5 separate regions of the Homo sapiens genome follow, and regions 2, 3, 4 and 5 are each linked to region 1. Evidence: promoter capture Hi-C in 16 types of primary human blood cells and fetal thymus (Javierre and others, 2016). All regions are on one chromosome and are shown on one strand. Each heading gives the region's core, a stretch centred on a gene start or on the middle of the fragment in contact. The rest is flanking DNA. Distances are from core to core; before and after follow the strand shown. Region 1 holds the start of MTMR8 (myotubularin related protein 8). Region 2 has its middle 5.6 kb from the start of ZC4H2. Region 3 overlaps ARHGEF9 (Cdc42 guanine nucleotide exchange factor 9). Region 4 overlaps ZC3H12B (zinc finger CCCH-type containing 12B). Region 5 holds the start of LINC01278 (long intergenic non-protein coding RNA 1278).

Region 1 (2,700 bases), core at 166-2,665:
CTACCAGGCCCCACTTCCAACGTAAGGGATTACAATTAAACATGAGATTTGGTGGGGACACAGATCCAAGCCATATCCAGGAGTAAGGGTTTAACTTGTGGAAGAGATCAAGATAACCAAAAGAAAGAAAATAGAAGAGGAATGAGGATAGAAGCCAGGAAAATGGCTTAAAAAAAAGAGAAAGTTGCTGGGAAGGAGTCAGAGAAGGAACAGTTGGGGATGCAGGCAGTGAGTTTGTTTATAATAAAGGTCAAGGGAAGAAAGAATGTCAAAAAGGAATATGAATCAATAGTTTTAAATGCTGTAAAACAAATAGAAAACGAGCACTGAGAAGAGCTGTTGGAATCAGCAGCTGGAATTTAGGATGATGTGAAAGAGCCAATTGAGTGGAGTGGTAGGGAGGAGTGAGTTTGTTATGGAGAAGTGAAGGTGATGATAAGTAGACTATTCTTTTGAGATATTTGGCAGTGAAAGGGCTGAACATGATGGAACGATGGTACAAGGGAGAATAGGGTCATGGATCGAGGGAAGGGCCTTCAGGCTAGGGAAGAAGGCAGAATATGATAAACGAGTAATTTTGCTAGCAAATGTTATAAGAACTCAAAGAAGAACAAAATTATTTTGTAGGGGCAGTGAGATTGCAAACCATAACACTGCAATAGTAGAGCTAGAAATTACCCTGAGATAGTGGCCAATACCCTCATTGTAACCTTGGTCAACTTAAGACCCAGAGAGGTGGCATGATTTCCCCAAGGTCACATAGCAAGTTAGTGGCAGACCTGAGAGGAGTAGAATCCAGATTTCCCAACTCTCAGATTGTTCTTTTTTCCACCACAAATCTGACTTGGAGCACACCACTGAGGGTCTGCACCTATTTACCCCTCATCTGATAGCTGGTCCAGTGGGCCCTTTCTTGGTCCTCTTCCCATATCTACGATGGCAAAAGTGATGAGGATACTGTAGTATTCCAGATTTTAACTAGGTTGATGGCAGCAGACACATAAAGGAGAGATAGAGAGGAGGATATACCTTTCCATATTTCAAAAAATATTCTCTGGTGACTTGCCCAAGGTCTCACAGCTAGGAAGCTCTTCAGAAACCCAATTGCCAGCATGGGGCAGCCTGTGTTACTGCTGCAGGATGCTATCATTGTAATATTAGAGTAAAGGAGTGATATCTGTGTTCAGAGCCCTTATAGCATCAAGAAGGGTGAGAAGGGTGGCAGTACTCGAATCTGGGACTTAAAGACTCGGCCAAACGTTGAACCTGAACCAGAATAATCAATTTCCCGAAGAAAAGGGCACTTGCCAGGAAGCAAGATGGCGGGAACGGCTACGGTCAAAGTGTCGCGATAGGAGCTTTCGCCGAGGATCAGGTGACGAGAGTTTGAGCCAGGACCGGGAGGGCGGGGGTAGAAACCCGGGTTGAGGCAGGAGGCGGCTAGACCGGTGGCGGCGGCATCTGGAGTAGCACTGAGATCTTCCGGTGGCGGGAACTGCAGTCATGGATCATATTACGGTACCCAAGGTAAGGAGAAGAGTTAAGCGAGGCTGACAGCCGCGAGCTTCCTCTTGGTGCTCACCTGGGAGCCCAGACACACCTCCTCAGCCTTCTCAGCCTTCTTTGACGCGTCTTTCCTGTGGGGGGTCCCGGGTTCTCTTTCTGGGTCCACACCCCCTTTCAACCAAACACCTCTTCTTAGGATCTGCTTGCGGGCGTCAGCGGCCGGGAAAGAGGTGGTCTGCACCACTGTCCCCTTACGCGACGCCGCCCCCGCTCCTGGTGCACGCCTGTTCTGGCCCTCTGACTCCAGCTCCTCCCTAGCCTTGACCTCACACTCACCCTTATCTCAGCTTTTTATACTAGCTGCACTTGTAACCGCCATTCGCGAATACCCCACATTGCTCTGCCTCCTGCGGAGTTACTTCCTTTATCGAGCGTTTCTTCACCATCCTCTTGGCTCCTCCAGCCACTAACCTTCCCCAGGGATTGCCCAGAACCCCACTCTCGCTCCAGCTCCACGGCATGCCTGTGAGGGTTTGTGGGGGCCACAGCATCTCTTCAGCCAAAGCTGGGCAATGGAAAAGGAAGAGGAGTGGGGCAGAGTGGATCTGGCTCTGCTCAGCCGGTAGGAGAAACCCAAGAGGTTTATCTAGCCAGTTGTCACCTGTTTTTAGCCAGTCCCGAGTTAGAGTTACTTCTGCTACTTTTTCCTCTCATCTTTCCAGATCCTACTCCCTCCCTTCCCAACGCCAGCCCCTTTCTGTTTCAAATCCACTTCCCTCCTTTCTCCTGTCTGGGGCTGGGGAACAGTGAAAAATTCACAACTAGTCTGTGGTTATTTTTTCCTGTTGATCATAACACACGTGGTCCAGGCTAATTGAAGTCCTGGTAAAAAATCCAGCGTGTTTTTAATGGAAAGAGCATGGATTTTGAAGCCAGAAGACTTGAATTAAAGTGCTGCCCACTGCACCCCCACCAACTACTTAGCTAATGACTTTGGACAAATTATTTAACCTCTCTGAGCCTTAGCTTTCCTCACCTACTGATAGGGTTTTTCTCTGTGTCCCCACCCAAATCTCCTCTTGTAGCTTCCGTAATTCTCACGTGTTGTGGGAGGGACCCGGTGGGAGACGGTTGAATCATGGGGGCAGGGCTTTCCTGTGCTGTTCTTGTGATAGTGAATGGGTCTCATGAGAT
Region 2 (2,700 bases), core at 82-2,581, 590 kb before region 1:
GTCTTGTGATTTAGAGGATAATAGGAACCTGTCTGGTAGGGGAGCTAGGCTGCCAATGATGGAAAACAAGGAGGTAACAAGAAAGTTTATTGAAGAATATCCATCTTAATAATAATAGCAGACACTTCTACAGTATTTATTATGCTGTTTTAGCCAGTTCCGTATATTAATTTAATTACAACCCTAAGAGTTAGTTACAATTACTATCATTTCCATTTTCCATACGAGAAGACCAAAACCCATAGAGGGGAAGTTATTTGCCCTTGAGTCAGATAGCTAAAAATAGTAGAGACCAGAGGTGAGCTCAGGCAGCCTGACTGAAGAGTCTGGGTGCCTCACCACTATGCATACTGCCACCTGTGCTAGGAAAGGAAGGGCTATCTGGGAAGTCAAGCTGGGCAATTATACGTGATATATGCAAGGGGATTTTGAAGGCCCAGGAGAGGACATCTGCCTTCCCACTCCTCTCCCAATCTGTTTACTTGCAGATACCAGATGTTTCATTCATAGGCATAAGGTTTGGTCTATTGTTTACAATGCAACCAACCCCTGGGTGGGGTACTACTAAGATTTATGTGTTATTTTTACTTTCCCAGTCTGTTTCATTTTTATTTTATGAGTGTCATTTTTCATTGTACATTTTTATACAGTTGAATCTGTCCATCTTTTCCTTGTGGTTGCTTATTTGTCATTGTGGCTTTATAAGTTATCATCCCTCTAACGCTTCTACTATAAATGAAGCCATTTTGCCCCAAACTTAGGGGAAATAATGGCTACAACCTTCACATCAAATGCTGCCCTGTCCATTTTGAGATTTCTAAATGAAGCCTCTGTCATTGTCTTCTCAAGCCTAAATCAAGACAACTTATTTATAGTTTTTTCATGCTTCTCTCCTGTTTCTATTCACTGAATTATCCCCAAATTTGGGTTCTCCAAATGACTCTAAGAATTAGGGCAAGTGGTGAGAAGGATGAGGGATATTGACCTGTAATCAATGCCTATTATAATTCAACCAATGTGCTAGGTGCTTTCTCATAACTTATCTCTTTTCATTTAATCATTAAACAGCTCTGTGAGGGGGACAAGGGCCCTATGAGTAGTTCTAAAGTACCCCAGCCTGGGAAAGATGTGCAGGGAACCTGGTAAGACTCAGCCCTTTTGGAAACTCAATCCCATACTTAGTTCTGGTGATATAAAGGAGGCTGTTAGAAACGGAAGGTCATTGGAGCTAGACAGTCAGTTTTGGTCACTCTCAAAGAGGTGAGAATTGAAGAAGAGGGGAGGGTGTGGATGAAAGTTTACTAAGAAAATGCAGTAGATGTACACTAGACTGCTTTTATAATAGGATTTTTTACACTAGGGTTTTTCGGACTTGCAGAGGGGAAAAATGGGACTCCCCTACTTCCACTGCCAGATCTTTGTTCCCTGAAATTTGCATTTGGGGGATCTAGGTCAGTGACATTGGGTAGGTGAGAAAGAATAGAGGAGTGAAATTTCAATGACATAAAGCCATCAAAAACAGCAAGAATTTCAGCTGAAACATTGCCTGAGAATACCTAGCACTGTCTATGTAAGCAGATACAAATTCTGGCTAATCACCCACAAGTCCCATCTCCTAGGGGAATCTTCAAAGTTAAGGCTTCAAACACACCCCTCAACACCCCAGCTGAAGGGCTGAAGTGATGGAGAACATGAAAATTTTCTGAGAGAGTGTGAAGAATGAGATTACCTATCTCAGCTCCTAACTCCCTAACCTAGGGAGGTCAATTACCATTTCTGTTCTTCAGTTTTTCCATATATCACATGTGAGTGCCTTCTAGCTCTAACATCGTACGGTTCTCTTCCAGTCTTTCCTGTTTCAGTGAATGGCACTGACCTTATTACTGAAGCCAAAAATCCAGGAGTCATTTTAGATGCCTTATCTCGCCCTCCGTACCTCTCCATCCTATCCATGAGCTAATCATATCAGTTCTGTGCCCAATAATATGTTCCCAATCAGCCCATTTTTCTTCATATCTACTATTACTACTGTAATTCAAGCCACCATAATTTCTTTCCTGGACAACTGTAATAGTTTTCCCACTGGTTTTCCTACTTCCACTTTTGCCCCAATAAAATCTGTTCTCACAGCAGTCAGTGATGTTTAAAAACTAGATCATGTTGCTCCCCTGCTTAAAACCCTCAATGTTTGCCTATTGTAATTAGAATAAAACCCAGACTCATCACCATGGTTTACAAGACCCTGTTTTTAGAATAACAGTTCAATGACATAAACTGTCTCCTCAGTCTACTTCTGCTCCCCTTAATCAGCCAGAGCCCTACCTACTTTTTTTTTTCATAGGCTAAGCATTTTCTGACTCAGGACCATTGCACCGGCTATTCGTTCTGCCTGGAGCACTCTTCCTCCAGATCATTGTATGCCCAACTCCTTATGTCTCCACTACAATGTCATCTCTGAACAGGAGCCTTCCCTGACCATCCTAACTAAAACATTCCCCCTCCTGCCATCATTCTGTCCTATTATCCTCAATTAGTGTCTTATGGGCTTATCTCCCCCAAATATTATTATGTTTATTTTTTTTTCTTTTCTGTCATTATTGTCTGGCTCCTCCTACTAGAATGTAAACTTCCTAAGAACTGGGATCTTGGGTAACTAATAGAACATAGTAGGTGAGAGCATGGCTTCTGGAGGCAGACTCT
Region 3 (2,700 bases), core at 200-2,699, 640 kb after region 1:
GCCGTGATTGTAGTCCTCCTGCTTGTCAATGTCATACTCATGTTTTTCCTGGGAACGCGCTGAATGGAGTCCAGCCACCTGAGCTGTCGCGAACTCTCGCTTTGATTTCATCCCGAGAGCCACCGAGAAAAAAAAAAAATCACAGACAGAGACAGGGAAAGAGAGAGAAAGAACAAGCTTTCTTACTCAGGGGGGAAAACGTTTTGAGCTTCAACATGGCCTCGCTGTGATATGTATGACGTTGGTATATTATCTCTCCCTAAATCTTTTGTCGTGTCTTGTCTTTTAAGAATGCCTGCGCGTATAGTTGCCTATTGCTTGAGTGAAATTGTTGATGAAGAAATGCTTTCTATTTAAGTGTGCATGCGTGTGTGCATTTTTAATCTATGTGGCGTTCATGGAGCAAGCTCTGCGTCCTTAAACAGTGGCTTTGCTGTCTGTGGTGTCTTAACTCATTTCCTTGAAGACTACCTTTAAACTCCATCAGGGAATTTTAGTCAAAATTTCTCTCTTGCCATCAGGAGTGCATTTGGGTTTGTTTGAGGGGAAAAGGGTTTGTGGAAGAGCATGATGAATATTTGACATCATAGGAAAGACAGTCTTTGCAGTGGATATTTAGAGGGAAAATAATCGATGCAAGGAATGGATTTAGGGAAAATGCTTCTTTAGTGTCTAAGGAGAAGCAAGAATTTGGGAAGTGACACGGGTGTGTTGTGCTGGCAGTTGGTGACTGTGTCCTTTGAATCTCAATTTGCTCTCCAGGGTTCACAATTTTCAATTTTGAAAGAAGCCACATTTAAAACACTTCTTGAACCTTAAAGCTTTAAGATATTTAAAATGTCAATTTCCTTGGAATCATGAAATAGTATGTGAAAGCATTCTCTGATTTTTTGAACTGGCAAGAGAGGACTTTGACAGGAGCTATTTGGGCTCCCTTTCCCAAAGATTGTACCCCTGGATTTGAGTTTGGGGATTTTGTTTGTCTCATCAAAAAAAAAAAAAAACCCCACAAGAAAGAAAAAACAGCTCTTTATCCACCTTGGGAATAATAGTATTTGGATATGGCTCCTTTGGGATAATCTCGTTTGCAATGATGTTCTTGAACTACATTTTAAATGTAACTTGATAAGGCTGATGAGAAAGTGGTGATGCTATTGTTTGCTCCCGTTTGTTACTTTAAGATCAGAGGTCTCTGTAATTGAAACATTCCCATAACAAACTGAAAGTCTGTAATGTGCTAAATTAAGAGTTATCAAATTTTGGTGCTAAATTTGACCACCAAAACCCAAAAACGTCTAGAAGGAAAGGGATGAGAGCATGGAAAACATGAGCTGGAAGCAACATTCCAGTTTGAGATATGACTGCTTGTCTGTATCAGATGGTGGTGGTGGTTTCTGTTGTTATTGCTATTGCTATTATTTTTATATTTCTGTTTCCTCTGAGAAAGCTCTTGGCAGAGCCAGGAAAAAAAATGTCTCATGCCAGTCTGTATAATACTTGTTTTTTTGCGTTTTGATTTTCTTTCTCCCCTGTTAATGTAGGCAGGCTTTCCCCATTCCATTGCTTACCTGGCTTGAAATAATGCCATTTATGGCTCATGTATTATAGCAGTGAATCAGGACACATACACATCTACACACATGCTCCCCCTCCACCCATGTGGGTGGCTGTTCATGTCTGATGTGCAAATCTGCTGGCATTATGCTGTCAAGTTCCATGTCCGGTTGTTCAGTCTCTTTGGAAATGATTATGAAAGGAGAGGGGCTGTGAAGGGGGCCTTTGAAATTGTCTTGGCCACAGGACCCAGAGAGTATTATTTAATGGCGTCAGAGGGTGTTTTGGGCCTCAAAGCATGCTATCCTTGACTTGGTGTGGGTGAGAAGCTGAGGTTTTTGTGAGATTAGTACCATGGTGTAAACATGATCTGGGAGGTTTGCTGGCATTGGTTCTTATTAATTACTCTTTGGTCCGTTTGTGGAGACCCCCTGGATGGAACTGAGAACCTATTTCTTTGCAAAGATAATTTAGTGAGTTTTTTTCCCCCCTTAGCTTCATTGTATTATTTAAAGTAAGCTTATATCTTTTCTGGGCACTTTGTTTTGATACAGTGTTGGAGAGTGGGGAATGGCTCTATGCTGGGCAGCTGCAGACCTGTTTTTTTGTTTTGTTTTGTTTTGTTTTTTGTTTTTTCCATTCAGCAGCTGTTTGACCTTGGACAATTTTTTTCCTCCTCGGTGGGTTTGGGATTCCCAGTAACATTGGCATTTTTTGATGGCTCCACTAGGTGACTTCCAAGTTCTTGCATTTTATGATTTTATGACCCCTAGACACTTGAAGTTGTGGGGGGTGGGGGGGATGAGCTGGAAAGACAAGTGAAAAGGAAAAGAAAATGTTAATCAAAGGGTGATGGGAGGAGGGGAAGGATATCTGGTACTACAGCCTGGATAACAAGTTTAAGCGAAGGGGTTTTTTTTGCCTAGTTATTTGGGAAGGAAACTGGGACAGCAATAAGGGAATGCTTTTTGACTTTTTTTCCCCCAAGGGGAGAAGGGGTCTCTGAGACTAGTCTTTGATCTAGGTTTATGACTTAAATAGTGTCACGAAATGCCTTCTCCTCTGTGAGCCTGACAGACCTTTGGCAGAAAGCCTCTGGGAATGTATGTGTGTGTGTAGGGTGTGTGGCAGTATGTTCATGGGGGT
Region 4 (2,700 bases), core at 30-2,529, 640 kb before region 1:
TACTGCTGGCAGCAAAAGATACCAAAAAAAAGGTACAGAAGGTGTATAAAGCCTCAAAAATTTCAAGTTTGAGTATATTGTTCCTCAGAGTAAATCTGTGAATTCTTTATATTTGGAATTCTAATATGTGAATTTCTGTTAGGAGACATACCTCTCTACGGATGGAATAACTCCATACCTCGTTATTTTTCTGTGTAAATGTCAACTTACAATGGCTGACTAAAACCTAGGAGACAATTAGTCATCTGACTAATTTTCAATATAGCGGAAGGTTGTTAGAAATGTACCAAAATAAGCTTTGCAGAGGTTTGTAATTGCAGTTTAAACATTGATGTTGTCAATTATTAATATATACATTAATAACATGATATTAGAACTTTGACAGATATGAATTTGTGGGACTCTGACATACCCCTCCCTTTGTTTTCAGAAAATGGTAGCAATAGCAGTACTAAATGTAGTACTAAAAACTAAGTTATCATATACTAATGAATCAAAATGAATGTTGCTTATAAAATTTCCCTAATTTATTTTATCAAGAAATAGTCTTTGGAGCATATTAATAATCTAATGTACTATCAGACCAGTGTTGTATGAAACACTTAGAATATAACTGTCTCTTAATAGACAGTAAAAAAAAATGTACAGGTTACAAAAACATGTGAACTTAACACTCTACCTATATCTGCTTAGAAAACATTCTCACTTGCCTCAGGAAATAGGATGATTATTTTAAAGCCTGATTTCTATAGCATGTATATCTGTGAAATTATATTTAATTTGTTAATTTAGTATGTAGTTTATCATAGAAAATTATGCCCACTACAAAGAAGTTAATTGCCACTGACAGTCCTCTTCTCCTTTAGGTTTACCTAGGAGAAAATATGCAAAAGGATTAGAAAATCAAGTGCCTTAGCTCATGCTATGCTGAACTCTTCCACCTTCTAAGAAAGCTTATACTTCTATTAAGAGCCAAATCAAGTATGACTTTCTCTACAAAGCTTTCTCAGAAAAATCCAGCCTACAGTATTCTCCCTTTACTCTTAACTCTTTCAGTCCTTATTCAATATGACTCTGTTCCAATTGTTGACCATGGTGTCTCATATATGTATTTTCCTTTTTCCAATGGCTAAGCAATTTACCCATCGGTAATTTACCATTGGGTAAGCAATTTACCCAACTGGTAAATTGCTGTTTCTGTTCTATTCTCCACAATACCTGGTATAGTAGTAGGCATTCATTAGAAGCTAGAAAATAAAAACTTGTTGAAAGTCACTTTAAAAAAAAAAAAAAACTTCATTCCAGAGTTCACTGAACAAGTGCTTTGATAGCATTTGCAAAATAAGCCATCAATTTTATTTTATAATGTGATTACGACACCCTAGGTAAATGCTCTTAAGAGTATGCGGCATCTTCATAGTCATACTCACTTCAATGGAATACTAGATTGGATTCAAATTACTGCAGGGTTCTCTAAGTATGTGAAGGTGAAGAGCAAGTATTCATATGATACACTATTATTTCAAATAATTCAGACTTAAATTCATCAAAAGCTTTTCCAAAACAAAAAAAAAATTACCTTTGGAATCTAGCAACTAGAAGCATGTCAGCTTGCTAATGCACAAAACAAACAATACTCTCTGAGGTTATTTTGCAGTGGTACTAGAATTATATTGTGCTTTAATTTAAACTATACCCCCAAAGAACCTCAAACAACATGAAAGCTCCCAAAGCAAAGCATTTTACCCCAAACTAACAAAGTTTGCGGTCTTGACAGATTCACCCAATAAATTTAATCATAAATGGCATCTATATATCCTTTTTAAAAATCTTTAGCTCAAAAGCATTTACAAAAAAAAGAAAATTTAGCTTTTCCATTATTACGCTTCTCTCTCGCCACGTCTTATCAGATAAACGAAACCTGAAATGGCTTAAAAACCAATAGGGAGGGAAAAGAACCCATCTTTTGTCTGCTCACAGAACTATCTTACAATCAAAATTACTAATCTAAATTCAGTATGCTTTTGATAGGTGTCATCTGTGGACTGTAAGTTTTTTCAACCACTTACTTTTAAGAAAACAACCTCATTCATCAAAGATAATGTTGCTAATTTTCAAAAAAGCACCTCACAACTTTAGAACCTCATCTAATCACCTTGTCCAGAATATCACTTCCGGTGCCTCATGCCAATGTTTTCTGGAACCGACTATCTTCAACTGCAGGCTACCTCAGGAAGAACAGATATATCACAACCCATCCTCGCTTTTATTGGGGATATTTTAGGTTTCATCATCGTATTTATAATAAAAAAGAAGTATGCCATTCTGGATGAAAAGTAGTTTGTAAAACCAGTTTCCCCTATTATGAATCAGCCATTCTGCCTACTTCTCAAGTTTGATAGCACTTTAGAAGTCAAATGGAGTGTGTGTTTGTTTTATTATTTTTATTATTTAATATAAGTACTATCTTCCTAACGTACATGTCAGGAGTCAGAAGCCAGGCACAAGGCTTTCGGGAGGTCTTAGCACACGAGTAGCAACAACACTGAAAAGTAAGGGGCCACTCCAGCTATGTGTTCAAACCTTGAGGCATGGAGCGACAGCAGCCCGGGGAATGGGCTCCTGAGAAGCCCGCGGTCAGGCTGAGCCTCCTGAGAGAGCGAGAGCCAGAGCCAGAGCGAGGGGAAAGGGGCGAGCACG
Region 5 (2,700 bases), core at 59-2,558, 840 kb after region 1:
TTCTCTCATGAAGCATTACCTATTTTCAAAGCTACATAAGGTGCTGTTGTAATCATACGGTTTTGTTGTATACATAATCCCGCTTTAATTATTCATCATTATTTATTTTCCTTTTGTTAGTTTAATTATAAAAACAACACATACTCATTTTAAGAATCCTAATAATACAGATCTGTATGTTGTTGTTGGTGAAAAGTCTCCAGTTTTTTTCATCCCTTTTCTTTATAATTTCCAGCATAATGCCATAGAAATAGACGAAACTCTCAGCGGGCTTATTCTGCATTCACTGGCCATGGTGGTTTGAGGGTTAACTTTAAGAAGCACTCTCTCCATTTCAGCTGACTGCTACATCCGGGAGAAAAGCGCTATTGCCTGGGAAACTAAGTCACGTGAGAACCTGGGGACGCTAGGTTCCGGAACCTGACCTGAGCTGGGGCCTGTGCTTCCAGCGGGTGGTGGGGGGCCTGGTGTGCTGGCATCAAGTAAGCCGACTACCTCGGCAAAGGCTTAGGGACAAGAGACCAGCAGCCTGAACTGGCTGGGGCATCCGGAAGGCTTAGATCTTGTGGCCAAGAGTTCAGACCGTGGCGAAGTGGAGAGTGACATGCAGTTGGATGGCGGTGACTGCGTGGTAAGTTGTATTTGAACACCCGGCAGGAGACAAGAAGTGGGGATGAGCTAGGACTCATCCTCCCTTTATTGAATAATTTGCCTTTTTCCAGAGGGAAGGAAGCCAGACCAGCTAGCAGGACGCCAGGGGTAGGAGTGCGGGAATGAGAATAGGTGTCTGGAACAGGGCAGAGGGGGAGGGGGACCCTGAGGCGCAAATTCTTTTTCCTTACATGGCTTTTTCTTCTCGTTTTTCTCCTCTCTCACCCTCTATGTCCCCATTATTCTTGTTCTTTCTTTTCCTGGTTACGCATTTTCATTAATCCAGAGCCTTAATTCGAATGTAAACATTTTGGCTCCTGATCCAGTTCTCCGTTAACTTTCCTGGTATTTGTGATTTCGTGTTTGGTAGCGTAATAGGACGACTATAGTTAACAATAATTTATTATGTATTTCAAAATAACTAAAAAGCGGAATTGAGATGATTCTAACATAAAGAAATGATAAATGCTTGAGGTGATGGTTATACCATCTACTCTGATTTGATTATTACACATTGTATGTTCTAATCAAAATATCACATGTACCCCATAAATATGTACAACTATTATATATCCATAATAATTAAAACTTCAAAAATGTTAACAAAATGGCAAAAAAATCAGAAGAAGTTATTCAAGTATGGTGAGTAAACGTTTAAAAAGTGACTCAGCTTCACTAATAAATGCACATGAAAAAACGGAATAGCAGATTATGATTGACAAGGGGATAAAAAGATTGTTTATGCCCAGTGTTGTGCAGAGTTTGGGGACACTGGCACTCAATTACAGTATTAAGTGTGTAAATTAGTATAATCATTTATTGTTGGGCTATTTGGCATATGTAACAAACTTGAAAACCTCTTAGTCTTTGACCTAGAAATTCTACCCTTAGGAATTTTTTTTCAACACAGTTACTACTGAAAATACACACAGGTATGCACATACACATATAATGTGTTAATTGCAGCATTATTTGTAATAGCACACTTTGGAAATAATCTAAATGCCCATCAATAGTGAATTGGTAAAATAAATTGTGGTATAACAATATGATTGGATAGAATACAGCCCTTTTAAATGGCACTGATTTGGTGCCTGTGAAATAAGTTACAAAATAGGTTTTCTAGTAGTAGTCATAATATTATCAAATATTTCTTTACAATATATGTGAATACATACTTCTATATGAACAGAAAAAATGCTATAGGAAATTATGAACAAAACAACTAGCAATGAAAATCTCTGGGTAGTGGAATTGTAGCATTTGTTTTTCCTCCCCACTTCTGCTTTCCTTCTCAACGTCCTTCCCCAACTTTCTTTCTTTCTTTTTTTTCTTAAAGATCCATGTACATTTATTTCAACATTAATTTTTATACTCCAGATACCATTTACTTTCTTTTTTAAAGTATTACATATTAAGCAATACACAAGGTTGTAAAGAAAAATTCAACCGATACCATTGTAGCCTTAGCTCAGTTTAACAAGTAAAAATTTGATCAATACAGCTGAGATCTTCTGTGTAACCTTCCTTAATTCCATTACTCCAATCATGAGTTTGGGGTTTATTTTTTCTATGAATAATTTTTTAAATTTTTTACCACATGTACATTTATATCTCAGAAATATATATTTTACTTCCTTTAAAATCTAATATAAATGGTATACTGTATATATTCTTCTCAACTTGTTTTTAGTCAAAATATGGTTGGGAGCTTTATGTTGATAACTTTTATTAACAGTTAATTTATTTTCCCTACTGTACTGTTTCTAATGTGTAACTCTACCACAATTTATTTTTCCATTTTATGAATGACCACTTTGATTGTTTCAGTTTTCAGTACATGTATTTATGTTAATGGACATTGTAATGCATTTCCTTGCTCTATGAATTATTTGATGGATTACTTTGGAAAAATTATTTCACTTTTTTTTTTGAGACAAAGTCTCACTCTGTCGCCCAGGCTGAAGTGCAGTGGCACAATCTCTGCTCACTTCAACCTCTGCCTCCCGGGCTCAAGCAGTCCTCCCACCTCAGCCTCCTGAGTAGCTG

The links. Contacts are between HindIII fragments. The CHiCAGO score rates a contact against its expected background, and 5 or more counts as called.
Region 2: a contact is called between a fragment that was not itself captured here and the fragment with the promoter of MTMR8 in region 1, in 3 of 17 cell types (activated CD4 T cells, total CD4 T cells and total B cells). The highest score is 6.4, in activated CD4 T cells.
Region 3: a fragment that was not itself captured here is called in contact with the fragment with the promoter of MTMR8 in region 1 in 1 of 17 cell types (activated CD4 T cells); the score reaches 5.4 in activated CD4 T cells.
Region 4: a fragment that was not itself captured here is called in contact with the fragment with the promoter of MTMR8 in region 1 in 3 of 17 cell types (total B cells, activated CD4 T cells and total CD8 T cells); the score reaches 6.9 in total B cells.
Region 5: a fragment that was not itself captured here is called in contact with the fragment with the promoter of MTMR8 in region 1 in 1 of 17 cell types (naive CD8 T cells); the score reaches 6.3 in naive CD8 T cells.

Annotation. Positions count from the first base shown.
Region 1 is chrX:64,394,167-64,396,866 of GRCh38, reverse strand. MTMR8 (myotubularin related protein 8) reads left to right here and starts at 1,415. Exons shown (of 14, transcript NM_017677.4): 1 at 1,415-1,527. The coding sequence starts at 1,504. RefSeq lists enhancers at 1,228-1,517, 1,528-1,787. The HindIII fragment of the contact is 5,336 bases long and covers 1-2,700 here.
Region 2 is chrX:64,980,750-64,983,449 of GRCh38, reverse strand. It overlaps a transcript of ZC4H2 not described here. Among named protein-coding and RNA genes, the nearest start is that of ZC4H2, 5.6 kb to the right of the region's middle. The HindIII fragment of the contact is 3,364 bases long and covers 1-2,700 here.
Region 3 is chrX:63,751,848-63,754,547 of GRCh38, reverse strand. All of the region lies in intron 1 of ARHGEF9 (Cdc42 guanine nucleotide exchange factor 9), which reads left to right. It overlaps LOC128031833, which reads left to right. Exons shown (of 1, transcript NM_001414729.1): 1 at 1-63. The coding sequence ends at 63. Among named protein-coding and RNA genes, the nearest start is that of ARHGEF9, 32 kb to the left of the region's middle. The HindIII fragment of the contact is 1,252 bases long and covers 824-2,075 here.
Region 4 is chrX:65,035,582-65,038,281 of GRCh38, reverse strand. The region is part of intron 1 of ZC3H12B (zinc finger CCCH-type containing 12B); the gene reads right to left. Among named protein-coding and RNA genes, the nearest start is that of ZC3H12B, 2.1 kb to the right of the region's middle. The HindIII fragment of the contact is 552 bases long and covers 1,004-1,555 here.
Region 5 is chrX:63,558,763-63,561,462 of GRCh38, reverse strand. It overlaps LINC01278 (long intergenic non-protein coding RNA 1278), which reads left to right and starts at 368. Exons shown (of 4, transcript NR_152613.1): 1 at 368-631. RefSeq lists an enhancer at 647-1,188. The HindIII fragment of the contact is 5,008 bases long and covers 1-2,700 here.